Linked DNA regions of Homo sapiens: regions 1, 3 and 4 are each linked to region 2. Evidence: promoter capture Hi-C in human tissues and cell types (Jung and others, 2019). All regions are on one chromosome and are shown on one strand. Each heading gives the region's core, a stretch centred on a gene start or on the middle of the fragment in contact. The rest is flanking DNA. Distances are from core to core; before and after follow the strand shown. Region 1 has its middle 12 kb from the start of IL4. Region 2 holds the start of LEAP2 (liver enriched antimicrobial peptide 2). Region 3 overlaps RAD50 (RAD50 double strand break repair protein). Region 4 overlaps HSPA4 (heat shock protein family A (Hsp70) member 4).

Region 1 (2,700 bases), core at 173-2,672, 190 kb before region 2:
AATGGCATATTATTTGTCAATAAAAAGAAATGAAGTACTGACAGAGGCCACAACCCGGATGAACCTTGGAAACAGTATGTGACGGGAAAGAAGCCAAATGCAGAAGACCACATATGGTATGATTCTACTGATATGAATTATTCAGAACAGGAGAATCCACAGAGGCAAAAATAGAATATTGATTGCTACAGGCTGTGGGTGGGAGGCGGGTGTGGAGGCATGGGGAGTGACTGATAATGGGGGGTGGGGTTTCTTTCAGGGGTGATGAAAATGTTCGGATATTAGATAATGGTGATGGTTGCACAATTCTATGAACATACTAAAAAGCACTGACTCGTACACTTTAAAAGGATAAATTTCGTAGTAGGTGAATTCTATCTCAATAAAGCTGTTATTTAAAAGAAATTAAAAGGGGGAAAAAAACCCAAGTGTCATCAAAACTTGCCTTTTGAAGACTTGTTCTCTGTAAGAATATGGATCTAGTAACAGTGATTGAGCACTCTCTTTTCATCCTCGCTTACAGAGATGTGACAAAATTAATATGAGTACTAAAATTACACCAAAACATGTAACATCTTTTTAACCCTTTCAAAATAAGGGAACAAATCAAAAGCTTCAAGTCTCACCCTGACCACAGCCAGTTTCACCCTGCCCACATAAAATACCAGCATGCCAAGGGCAATAAATAGCTATGAGAGTCATGGAGGCTCCTCAGGCCAACCGGAGAAGACACATACTGTAAATTTTAATTTCCTTTCTTCTTTGATTGAGGCTCATTTGCATTCAATGGCTAATGTGAGTTGTAGTCTGCCACAGGATATGGGTAGTGGGTTACAGTTTGTATATGAGGACAGGATGGTAAAGGAAAGTAGGAAGATTTAGAGCACGCCATGGAAAGGACACATGCAGACTCTAAGCAGGTCTGTCATCACATAAGCTTCATTAGGCAAGATGCAACTCACATTTCCATTTACTCCCAGTCAGGCAGTCCTGGACTCTGGATGCAAACATGCAACAACAACAAGCCTTTGAATTTCCGAAGACAATGAGAACACAAATTGAGGGGGATACTTATAAAAACAGTGGGTGAGGCCGGGCGCAGTGGCTCACGCCTGTAATTCCAGCACTTTGGGAGACTGAAGCAGGCGGATCACCTTAGGTCAGGAGTTCAAGACCAGCCTGGCCAACATGGCGAAACCCCGTCTCTACTAAAAATACAAAAATTAGCTGGGGATGCTAGTGCACACGTGTAATCCAGCTACTCGGGAGGCTGAGGCAGGAGAATCGCTTGAACCTGGGAGGTGGAGGTTGCAGTGAGCCAAGATCGTGCCATTGCACTCCAGCCTGGGCGGCAGAGCGAGATTCTGTCTCAAAAAAAAAAAAACAAAACAAAAAACAGAGGGTGAAAAACCTTCAGGATTAAGTGAAAGTTAAGATGCTTGTCATCTGAGCACATTTATGTAGCAAACTCAGCCACAGCCCGTGCCTGCTTCATGGGACATGCCTTTTGTCTGTGTGTGGAATATGACATTGACAGTAAGTCTGAACCTTTCCCTCCTGGCTATCATACCTCCACCTTTTGCCAATGAATAAACTATCTGTAACTGGCATCTAGGGGGTAATAATTATTTATTGGAAAAATGAATCAAAAAATGATTTGGCTCAAATCTATGGCTGTCTTTTATGGAAACATTGTTGGGCTACAGTTACAAAGGGTCACCTCTGTTACAAATGCCAAGGGGGCTCTGCTTGTTGCTGTCCATGTCATTGACCCTGCTCTTGGTTTTTCTCTGCCCTCCTTCACATAATCTCAGGGTGCCCACATTATCTAAGGATGGGAATCTCAAGGCTAAGCACAACGCAGAGCTTCCTTATGGAGCTAGGCACAGCCTGGCCTATGACACACAGGGTTGGCTTCTCAGTTTCTAGTAGCTTCCACTAGGAGCAAGGCAGGCACTTTCTCTAGCCTTGGGGCTGATTTCTAGATTCAATTTATTAGCTCAAGTTTGAGTTCCATTCCCAGGTGGAGTACTAAAATCCCCAGTTAGCTGTCACGCCCAGCGTTTCCTCAACTGGGCTTTTGCCCTAAGTACCCAGACACCCTCTCCTTGGCTCTCTAAAGTGTTGTTGTTTTTTTTTTTTTTTTTTTTTTTTTAATGAGACAGAGTCTCGCTCTGTCACCCAGGCTAGAGTGCAGTGGCGAGATCTTGGCTCACTGCAACCTCCACCTCCCAGCTTCAAGCAATTCTCCTGCCTCAGCCTCCTGAGTAGCTGGGATTACAGGTGCCTGCCACCACACCTGCCTCATTTTTTTGTATTATTAGTAGAGATGGGGTTTCACTGTGTTGGCCAGGCTGGTCTTGAACTCCTGACCTCAGGTGATCCACCCACCTCGGCCTCCCAAAGTGCTGGGATTACAGGCATGAGCCACTGTACCCAGCCTAAAGTGGCTATCTTCTAATCCATCCTGTCAACTTCTTCCTAGTCCAACTTTAAGTCTCTAAGCTGTCTGTTCCTTCTAGTTTCTGATTAGCCAGAGTTCAGCCAAACGAAAATATGTTTTGATGTTTTGTATGCTCACTGCACACCTGGGTACTTACTAGGCAACGTGAATAAGAGGACACACATTTGCTCCCTCAGTTTATACCAATCACGAGTGCAAGCAAAACAGCTGAGAAGAGAGGGCGGTTACTCCTCTGG
Region 2 (2,700 bases), core at 64-2,563:
ACATCCTGCCCAATTCCAGCTCTGAGGTCCATCAAACCATCTGCTTCTCCCTTGGCAAGAAGCTCCCTCTGTCTGACTGGCAGCAGGGTCAGTGGCCATCCTTTTCTACCTTCAGCTGTTGTGCATCTCCTCCACGTTTTCCTGGAGTAAAGGAACAAGCAGGTTCTTATCCAAATACCCAACCTGTGAAGATGAGACGGCCCTTGGGAAGAGGTATTAGCCAAGTTTTCAGTATGATGCCCGGCAGAAAGAATTTGTTGTCTTTGTCTTAAGCTTATTATCCTCCCAGGTCATAGGAAGATCTAAAGTCCAATCAGTCTCCTTACTCAGAATTCACAGCTTTCCCCTCAAACTTAAAATGCCCATGTCATTTCACGAGTACCCATAACTACCCATCGTTTAGATACATGTCCTCCCTTGGTCTAGAAATCTGCAGCAGTTCCTACTTAAACTGATGGATGCTTTGGGCTTTGGAGGTATCTCATCCCTATGCCTGTTGCCCTGAAGCTGCCGGAAGGAAAGGCCCCACTCAACTACTGGGAAGAAAGCCCATAATTCAAGGCTTTTAATACAGTCACTACACAAGCTCTCCCTCTGATTTAGGAGATCTTGTTACCTCCTCATCTACATGTGCTTAAAAACAAAAAGAAACCTATAATTATTCAATTCACCTGTGGTCCAAATAAGTCTCACATCCAGCCATTCCCCTGAGAGGGCAGGAGGCCAGACTTTGAACTTTCCACAGCTGGGTCTTCATTTTACTAGTGAGATAAAGAGGTGCAGATTAGGGTGACAGTCCATCTAAGCAAGTGGACGATCTGGGGAACTGTAGGCCTTGCTGAAGCATCCTCCCACAGAAAGGAGATAAGGGCCTTATCCAATTGGCTGTACACAATAGATCAGTGCTTCTTTCCTAGACAAGGCTGAAAGGGGCCAACATTATTTCTGAAGACTTCATTATTGGAATTCTATGGGAGTGATCTCACTGAGCTATTTTGGAATAGAAATGTGGCTAGTTGCCTGACCTCCCTCAATGGTTTCACGTGGCTTTCAAAGGGAAGGAAGGGCAGTGCTGACTTTTGGTAAAATGGGCGAAAGGGTCCATGCCAGCAACACAATCACTCAAAGTCCAGATGAGGGATCAGTAAATACAACGTGCCTGAAAGGTGGCCCTTGAGCACATTCCTCCGGTAGACATTAACTTATTAAATTGATTCTGATTACAAATATAAACTTTGCCCCCATCTCACCCAGTAACAATGCAAGAGTTGATGTCAGTCTATAAAAGGAAGTAGGAACTGTCCCTGGCTTTCAGGCTCCAACATCCTCCCCCTGTCAAGATGTGGCACCTCAAACTTTGTGCAGTCCTCATGATCTTCCTGTTGCTGTTGGGCCAGGTAAGGAGGGAAGGATACTTATGTGTGTGTGTGGAGTGTGGAGATGATAGTGGTGGTGGAACTTGAAAGCTAGATTCAGTCCTGAGGAATGGTTCCTCTGTTCTGAGTCTACAGCATCTGCGGAATGGAATGATCACTCTTCCAAGGTGTGCAGCAGGGTGTCAACACTTTCATATCTGAATGTCTTTGCCCTTACAGATAGATGGCTCCCCAATACCAGAAGTGAGTTCGGCAAAGAGAAGGCCACGGAGAATGACCCCATTTTGGAGAGGGGTTTCCCTCAGGCCTATTGGAGCCTCCTGCCGGGATGATTCTGAGTGTATCACAAGGCTATGCAGGTACTCCCTGAACCTGGGAGCAGGGTTGGGCCAGAGAGCCCTGGGAAGCTGGGCAGAGGAGTGACAAGGGGACACATGAACCTAAGAATAAAGCTGGGATGGAGGAGTTCTAGACTGAGACTGGGAGCTCCATGGAAAATCCCTTAGGAGTTAGGAGCCAAGAACAGCTCTATGTGGGTACCATGAAAGAGTGGTGCCTTTCCATTCTTCAGTCTTTCCTGAGACTGGACAGATCAAGCAAAGAGGAAGGAAATGCAGCATAGGTGGCCCTGGTCATTCCTAGACCCAGTCTTAAAAAACTACCCTTTCTTTTCCCCTAGAAAAAGACGCTGTTCCTTAAGTGTGGCCCAGGAATGATGTACATACCAGGGAAAGAAAGGACAGCAGTCACCTCCGACAATGCTCCGTTCTATGGAATATTGATTAACTGCATTTTGGCTGGAGACACCCAAGTGAAGCAATCTTGTATTTTTAATATTTAAAGGCAGATGTACGCTTTAAATTGGTCTCCATTTCTTCTTAGAATGTTGATATATGGATAAGCATAACTAAACTTGTCAATTTAGAGTTTATTTTTCTATGGATACTATTAAATGTCTCAAATTGAAATTTTAGCAGTCTGGAATTCAAGCTTTTGAGGGAAAGAAGGATTCATTTTGTATACTAAAGAAAAAAACAGCATTGCCCAATAATGTGTTAACTTCTCAATCTGGAAAGTGTAGTGAGAGCTACATAATCAATAGCTACGTAATCAACTTCAGCAAGTTCCTAAGCTGTGGCCCTGGATCCCTTCACTCCATACTCTTCAGGGAGGTGTCAAAGGTGGTCAAGCTTGGGAGGCTGAGGCAGGAGAATCACTTGAACCTGGGAGGTGGAGGTTGCAGTGAGCCAAGATCATGCCACTGCACCCCAGCCTGGGTGACATAGAGAGACTCTGTCTCAAAAAAAAAAAAAAAAAAAAAAGA
Region 3 (2,700 bases), core at 1-2,500, 240 kb before region 2:
CTTGTAGCAAGAAAATGTAAAGTTTTCTGTTCCAGAGCCTAACAGGACTTACATATTTGACTGCAGTAGGCATTATATTTAGCTGATGACATAATAGGTTCTGTCATAGTGTAGATAGGGATAAGCCAAAATGCAATAAGAAAAACCATCCAGAGGAAACTCTTTTTTTTTTCTTTTTCTTTTTTTTTTTTCCAGATGGAGTCTCGCACTTCTCTGTCACCCGGGCTGGAGCGCAGTGGTGCAATCTTGGCTCACTGCAACCTCCACCTCCTGGGTTCAGGTGATTCTCCCACCTCAGCCTCCCGAGTAGTAGCTGGAATTACAGGTGCGCGCTCCCACACCTGGCTAATTTTTTGTATTCTTAGTAGAGATGGGGTTTCACCATGTTGGCCAGGCTGGTCTCAAACTCCTGCCCTCAGGTGATCTGCCCACCTTGGCCTCCCAGTGTTGGGTTTACAGGCGTGAGCCACCGCGCCTGGCCTGGAGGAAACTCTTAACAGGGAAACTAAGAAAGAGTTGAGGCTGAGGAACTGGGGCATCTGGGTTGCTTCTGGCCAGACCACCAGGCTCTTGAATCCTCCCAGCCAGAGAAAGAGTTTCCACACCAGCCATTGTTTTCCTCTGGTAATGTCAGCCTCATCTGTTGTTCCTAGGCTTACTTGATATGTTTGTAAATGACAAAAGGCTACAGAGCATAGGTTCCTCTAAAATATTCTTCTTCCTGTGTCAGATATTGAATACATAGAAATACGGTCTGATGCCGATGAAAATGTATCAGCTTCTGATAAAAGGCGGAATTATAACTACCGAGTGGTGATGCTGAAGGGAGACACAGCCTTGGATATGCGAGGACGATGCAGTGCTGGACAAAAGGCAGGTATCTCAAAAGCCTGGGGAGCCAACTCACCCAAGTAACTGAAAGAGAGAAACAAACATCAGTGCAGTGGAAGCACCCAAGGCTACACCTGAATGGTGGGAAGCTCTTTGCTGCTATATAAAATGAATCAGGCTCAGCTACTATTATTACACTCTCCTGAAGCTAACCAACATTTCCTGCAACATTATGTAGACTTTTAAAAGAAGGGCCTGAAGCATTCTCACAGGATAGGCTAAATGTAGAACAAGAAGCTGAAGACCCGTTAGAGTTTTCATGGCACTCCTTATCAGAATAAGGTCACTGTCTCATCAGTTATAAGACATACCACTATTTTATGTGCCAGCAGGAATGAAAAAATGCAATTATAACCATAAGATGTTTCAGAATCAATGACATAATAGTATTGCAAACCAGATTCTAGCTTAAGCTAGAATGAATATTCCAGTATAGTAAGGAGTCTCATTAAGAAAGTAGCCCCTCATAGAACTAAGTCCCTACCACAGCATACACAAAGACTTAGCTGCTGGGTCAGGCCATCTGGCTTCAGGTAAGGCTCTGTGAGGACAGCCTACATTGGAAATCAGGAAGAGGAATGAAGTTTTAAAGAATCAGGAATATGGCATCCTTGGGGAACAAGGCTGGATCCTTCACTGTGCACAGGTTTGTAACAAAGATGTCACAGATACTTGAGCTTTCTGCTTTCAGATCAAGGCAGAAGATTACACTTGATAACACCTCTAGGCCCTTGACTTTTTTTAAATAAAATTCTAAAATCATAGAAATAGATGCTTACATTATCTAACTCATTTTCATAGTTTGCAGTTTTTGCTTAAAGAACATGCCATGCAGCTGGGCATGGTGTCTCACACCTGTAATCGCAGCACTTTGGAAGGCCGAGGCGGGCAGATCACCTGAGGTCAGGAGTTCGAGACCAGCCTAACATGGTGAAACTCCGTCTCTATTAAAAATACAAAAATTAGCTGGGCATGGTAGCATGTGCCTGTAATCCCAGCTACTCGGGAGGCTGAGGCAGGAGAATTGCTTGAACCTGGGAGGCGGAGGTTGCAGTGAGCCGAGATCGTGCCATTGCACTCCAGCCCAGGCAACAAGAGCGAAACTCCGTCTCAAAAAAAAAAAAAAAAAAGAACATGCCATGCATATATGTATTATGTTGTCAGCCTAGACAGCTGATCCCAATTTAAAGCATCTGCAGATTACTGTCTAAATCATAGTCTACAAAAATGACAAACTTGTGATCTGTAATCAGTATCCCTACGTGCTTTGATGATTTTTAGTGGTAATTATAAATGAGAAAATACAGAGTTTGAAACATGGTCTCTTTGAATTAAAAATACTTTCAAAAATATCTTGAGGAAAAAGATTTTTTGTAGCTATTCTGAGTTATGAAAATTAATTAGCAATAATTGTCTCCTTGGTGTGAGGGGAGAGAACAAATAATGGAGGTGGGCCTCCAGCCTACCTAACACTGGCTTTTGCTGAGGCTCTAGCAGCCAGCCAGGGGCTCTGCATGTGAGTGGGTGGTGGTAGAGTTGACAGCAGTTTGGATTCAAAGACAGGAAGGAAATGCCTGTCCCTCACAGGGCCAAGCTGTGGCCCTGTCTTCTGGCTTGCCTAGGCATTAAAGAAAAGACATAAACTATTCTAAAATTACCAACTCACTGATGTGTGCGCACCCACCCACAAACTGAGGGGGAAAGGGGACTTACAGCTCACACCAGAGTAGTTTATACTTCCTAGAATAGCCCTACTCTCTCAATTCTGTGTGTCTTGTATCCTCAGATGGTTTCAGTGGGTCTGAGGGT
Region 4 (2,700 bases), core at 166-2,665, 230 kb after region 2:
CAAGCAGTTCTCCTCCCCCAGCCTCCCGAATAGCTGGGATTACAGGCATGTGCCACCAAGCCTGGCTAATTTTTGTATTTTTAGTAGAGATGGGATTTCTCCATGTTGATCAGGCTGGTCTCTAACTCCTGACCTCAGGTGATCCGCCCGCCTTGGCCTCCCGAAGTGCTGGGATTACAGGTGTGAGCCACTGCGCCCAGCCTGTATTTTTCTTTAAATTGTTAAAGCTCACTTTTTCCTGTTTATTGTAACTCAGAATTTTTAGTTTTTTTTTTTTTTTAATTTGAATAGCTCTTGGGTACAGGTGGTTTTTGGTTACATGGATGAATTATATAGTGGTGAATTCTGAGATTTTGGTGCACCTGTCATCCACGTCCTGTACATCATACCTAAGATGGTAGTTTTTTTATCCCACACCCCACTTCTGTCCTCCCGCTTTTGAGTCTCCAAAGTCCATTATATTTCTGCATATGCTCCATAGCTTAGCTCCTACTTATAAGGGAAAACATAGCAGTATTTGGTTTTCCATTCCCAAGTTACTTCACTTAGAATAATGGCCTCCAGCTCCATCCAGTTGCTGCAAAAGACATTATTTTGCTACTTTTTATGACTCAGTAGTATTCCATGGTGTGTATATACCACGTTTTCTTTATTTTATTTTTATTTTTTATTTATTTATTTTTGAGACGGAGTCTCGCTCTGTCGCCCAGGCTGGAGTGCGGTGACGCGATCTTGGCTCACTGCAGGCTCTGCCTCTCAGGTTCACGCCATTCTCCTGCCTCAGCCTCCGGAGTAGCCGGGAGTACAGGTGCCTGCTACCACGCCTGGCTAATTTTTTTTTTTTTTGTATTTTTTTTTAGTAGAGATGGGGTTTCACCGTGTTAGCCAGGATGGTCTCGATCTCCTGACTTCGTGATCCACCTGCCTCGGCCTCCCAGAGTGCTGGGATTACAGGCGTGAGTCACCGTGCCCGGTCTACCATGTTTTCTTTATTTACTCATTGGTTGATGGGTACTTAGTTGTTTTTATTTTTTTATTTTTTTGAGATGGAGTTTCGGTCTTATTGCCCAGGCTGGAGTACAGTGGTACGATCTTGGCTCACTGCAACCTCCACCTCCCTGGTTCAAGTGATTCTTCTGCCTCAGCCTCCCTAGTAGCTGGGACTACAGGCATGCTCCACCATGCCTGGCTAATTTTTGTATTTTTAGTAGAGACGGGGTTTCACCATGTTGGCCAGGCTAGTCTGTCCTTACCTCAGGTGATCCACCCGCCTCAGCCTCCCAAAGTGCTGGGATTACAGGCGTGAGCCAGTGTTCCCAGATGCACTTGCTTTTACATGCAGTTTTTATTCTGAAATTTTTTAACTTACCGAAAGCCCTCCACGGCAGGGAGAATAATATAATAAAACTCCCCATACCTATCAAGTAGACCAACATTTGCCATCCTTGTTTTCTGTATCTCCCATCTCCTTACTCCCCCTGTATCTTATCTTATTTTTTTTGAAATGGAGCCTTGCTCTGTTGCCCAGGCTGGAGTGCAGTGGCCCCATCTTGGGTCACTGCAACCTCCGCCTCCTGAGTTCAGGCAGTTCCCCTGCTTCAGCCTTTGTAGTAGCTGGGATTACAGGTGTCTACCATCACGCCCGGGTAATTTTTTTTGTATTTTTAGTGGAGACGGGGTTTCACCATGTTGGCCAGGCTGTTCTTGAACTCCTGACCTCAGGTGATCCACCTGCCTCAGCCTCCCAAAGTGCTGGGATTACAAGTGTGAGCCACTGCACCTGGCTGCCCTCTGTATTTTAAAGCAAATCTCAGATACATCATTATATTCTATGCCTCTGACTGTATTGGGGATGTAATTTTTGATTGACCTAATTATAATATTTTCTTTATCATTAGGATCGTAACAGTTTTACTTTGAAACTGGAAGATACTGAAAATTGGTTGTATGAGGATGGAGAAGACCAGCCAAAGCAAGTTTATGTTGATAAGTTGGCTGAATTAAAAGTAAGTGACTCTTGAGAGCAGAGGTATCCAGAACCCTTGTTGAAGCTTCCTCTGAGGAGCTCAAATTTGGGAGGAATTCTCAAGTAAAGACAGACTGAAAATGATGTTTGATGAACTAAAATAAACCCTTTATGACTTAGGCTCATTATCATTCTCACTTTTAGAACCTTGTAATAACAAAATGATTTTTCTGAAAATTGACTTTAGGTTTGTAATGTTTCACTGAACTGGATGTTTAGTGCATTCTTGGTGTCAAGAGATAAAATGACTGCAAGACTTAGTACCTGCCCTAAAGGCACAGGGAATGCAGCTGGAGCAGGGCTGTTTCTGTTTATGTAGTTTGGATTCTTGATAAAAGCAAAGCATCTGGTGGTTTATTTTTTATTATTTTATTTATTTATTATTTATTTATTCATTTATTTATTTTTAAATACACAGTCTTGCTCTGTTGCCCAGGCTGGAGTGCAGTGGCGCAGTCTCGGCTCACTGCAACCTCTGCCTCCTGGGTTCAGGGGATTCTCATGCTTCAGCCTCCAGAGTAGCTGGGATTACAGGCGCGTGCCACCATGCCTAGCTAATTTTTGTATTTTTAGTAGAGACAGGGTTTCTTTTCACCATGTTGGCCAGGCTGGTCTTGAACTCCTGACTTCAAGTGATCTGCATGCCTTGGCCTCCCGAAGTGCTGGAATTATAG

What was found. The method cuts DNA at HindIII sites, captures the fragments that hold promoters and counts their contacts. A contact is called where the count stands out against the background at its distance.
Region 1: a contact is called between a fragment that was not itself captured here and the fragment with the promoter of LEAP2 in region 2, in 1 of the 25 tissues and cell types used here (bladder).
Region 3: a contact is called between a fragment that was not itself captured here and the fragment with the promoter of LEAP2 in region 2, in 1 of the 25 tissues and cell types used here (adrenal gland).
Region 4: a contact is called between a fragment that was not itself captured here and the fragment with the promoter of LEAP2 in region 2, in 2 of the 25 tissues and cell types used here (heart left ventricle and pancreas).

Annotation. Positions count from the first base shown.
Region 1 is chr5:132,684,450-132,687,149 of GRCh38, forward strand. No RefSeq gene overlaps it. Among named protein-coding and RNA genes, the nearest start is that of IL4, 12 kb to the left of the region's middle. The HindIII fragment of the contact is 4,749 bases long and covers 1-2,700 here.
Region 2 is chr5:132,872,355-132,875,054 of GRCh38, forward strand. It overlaps LEAP2 (liver enriched antimicrobial peptide 2), which reads left to right and starts at 1,314. Exons shown (of 3, transcript NM_052971.3): 1 at 1,314-1,397; 2 at 1,596-1,735; 3 at 2,056-2,692. The coding sequence starts at 1,341. The coding sequence ends at 2,092. The HindIII fragment of the contact is 2,304 bases long and covers 1-1,319 here.
Region 3 is chr5:132,637,351-132,640,050 of GRCh38, forward strand. RAD50 (RAD50 double strand break repair protein) reads left to right here. Exons shown (of 25, transcript NM_005732.4): 23 at 731-873. TH2LCRR (T helper type 2 locus control region associated RNA) reads right to left here. Exons shown (of 3, transcript NR_132125.1): 3 at 698-915. Among named protein-coding and RNA genes, the nearest start is that of TH2LCRR, 17 kb to the right of the region's middle. RefSeq lists an enhancer at 2,269-2,348. The HindIII fragment of the contact is 4,174 bases long and covers 1-2,700 here.
Region 4 is chr5:133,097,647-133,100,346 of GRCh38, forward strand. It overlaps HSPA4 (heat shock protein family A (Hsp70) member 4), which reads left to right. Exons shown (of 19, transcript NM_002154.4): 16 at 1,899-2,006. Among named protein-coding and RNA genes, the nearest start is that of HSPA4, 47 kb to the left of the region's middle. The HindIII fragment of the contact is 5,986 bases long and covers 1-2,700 here.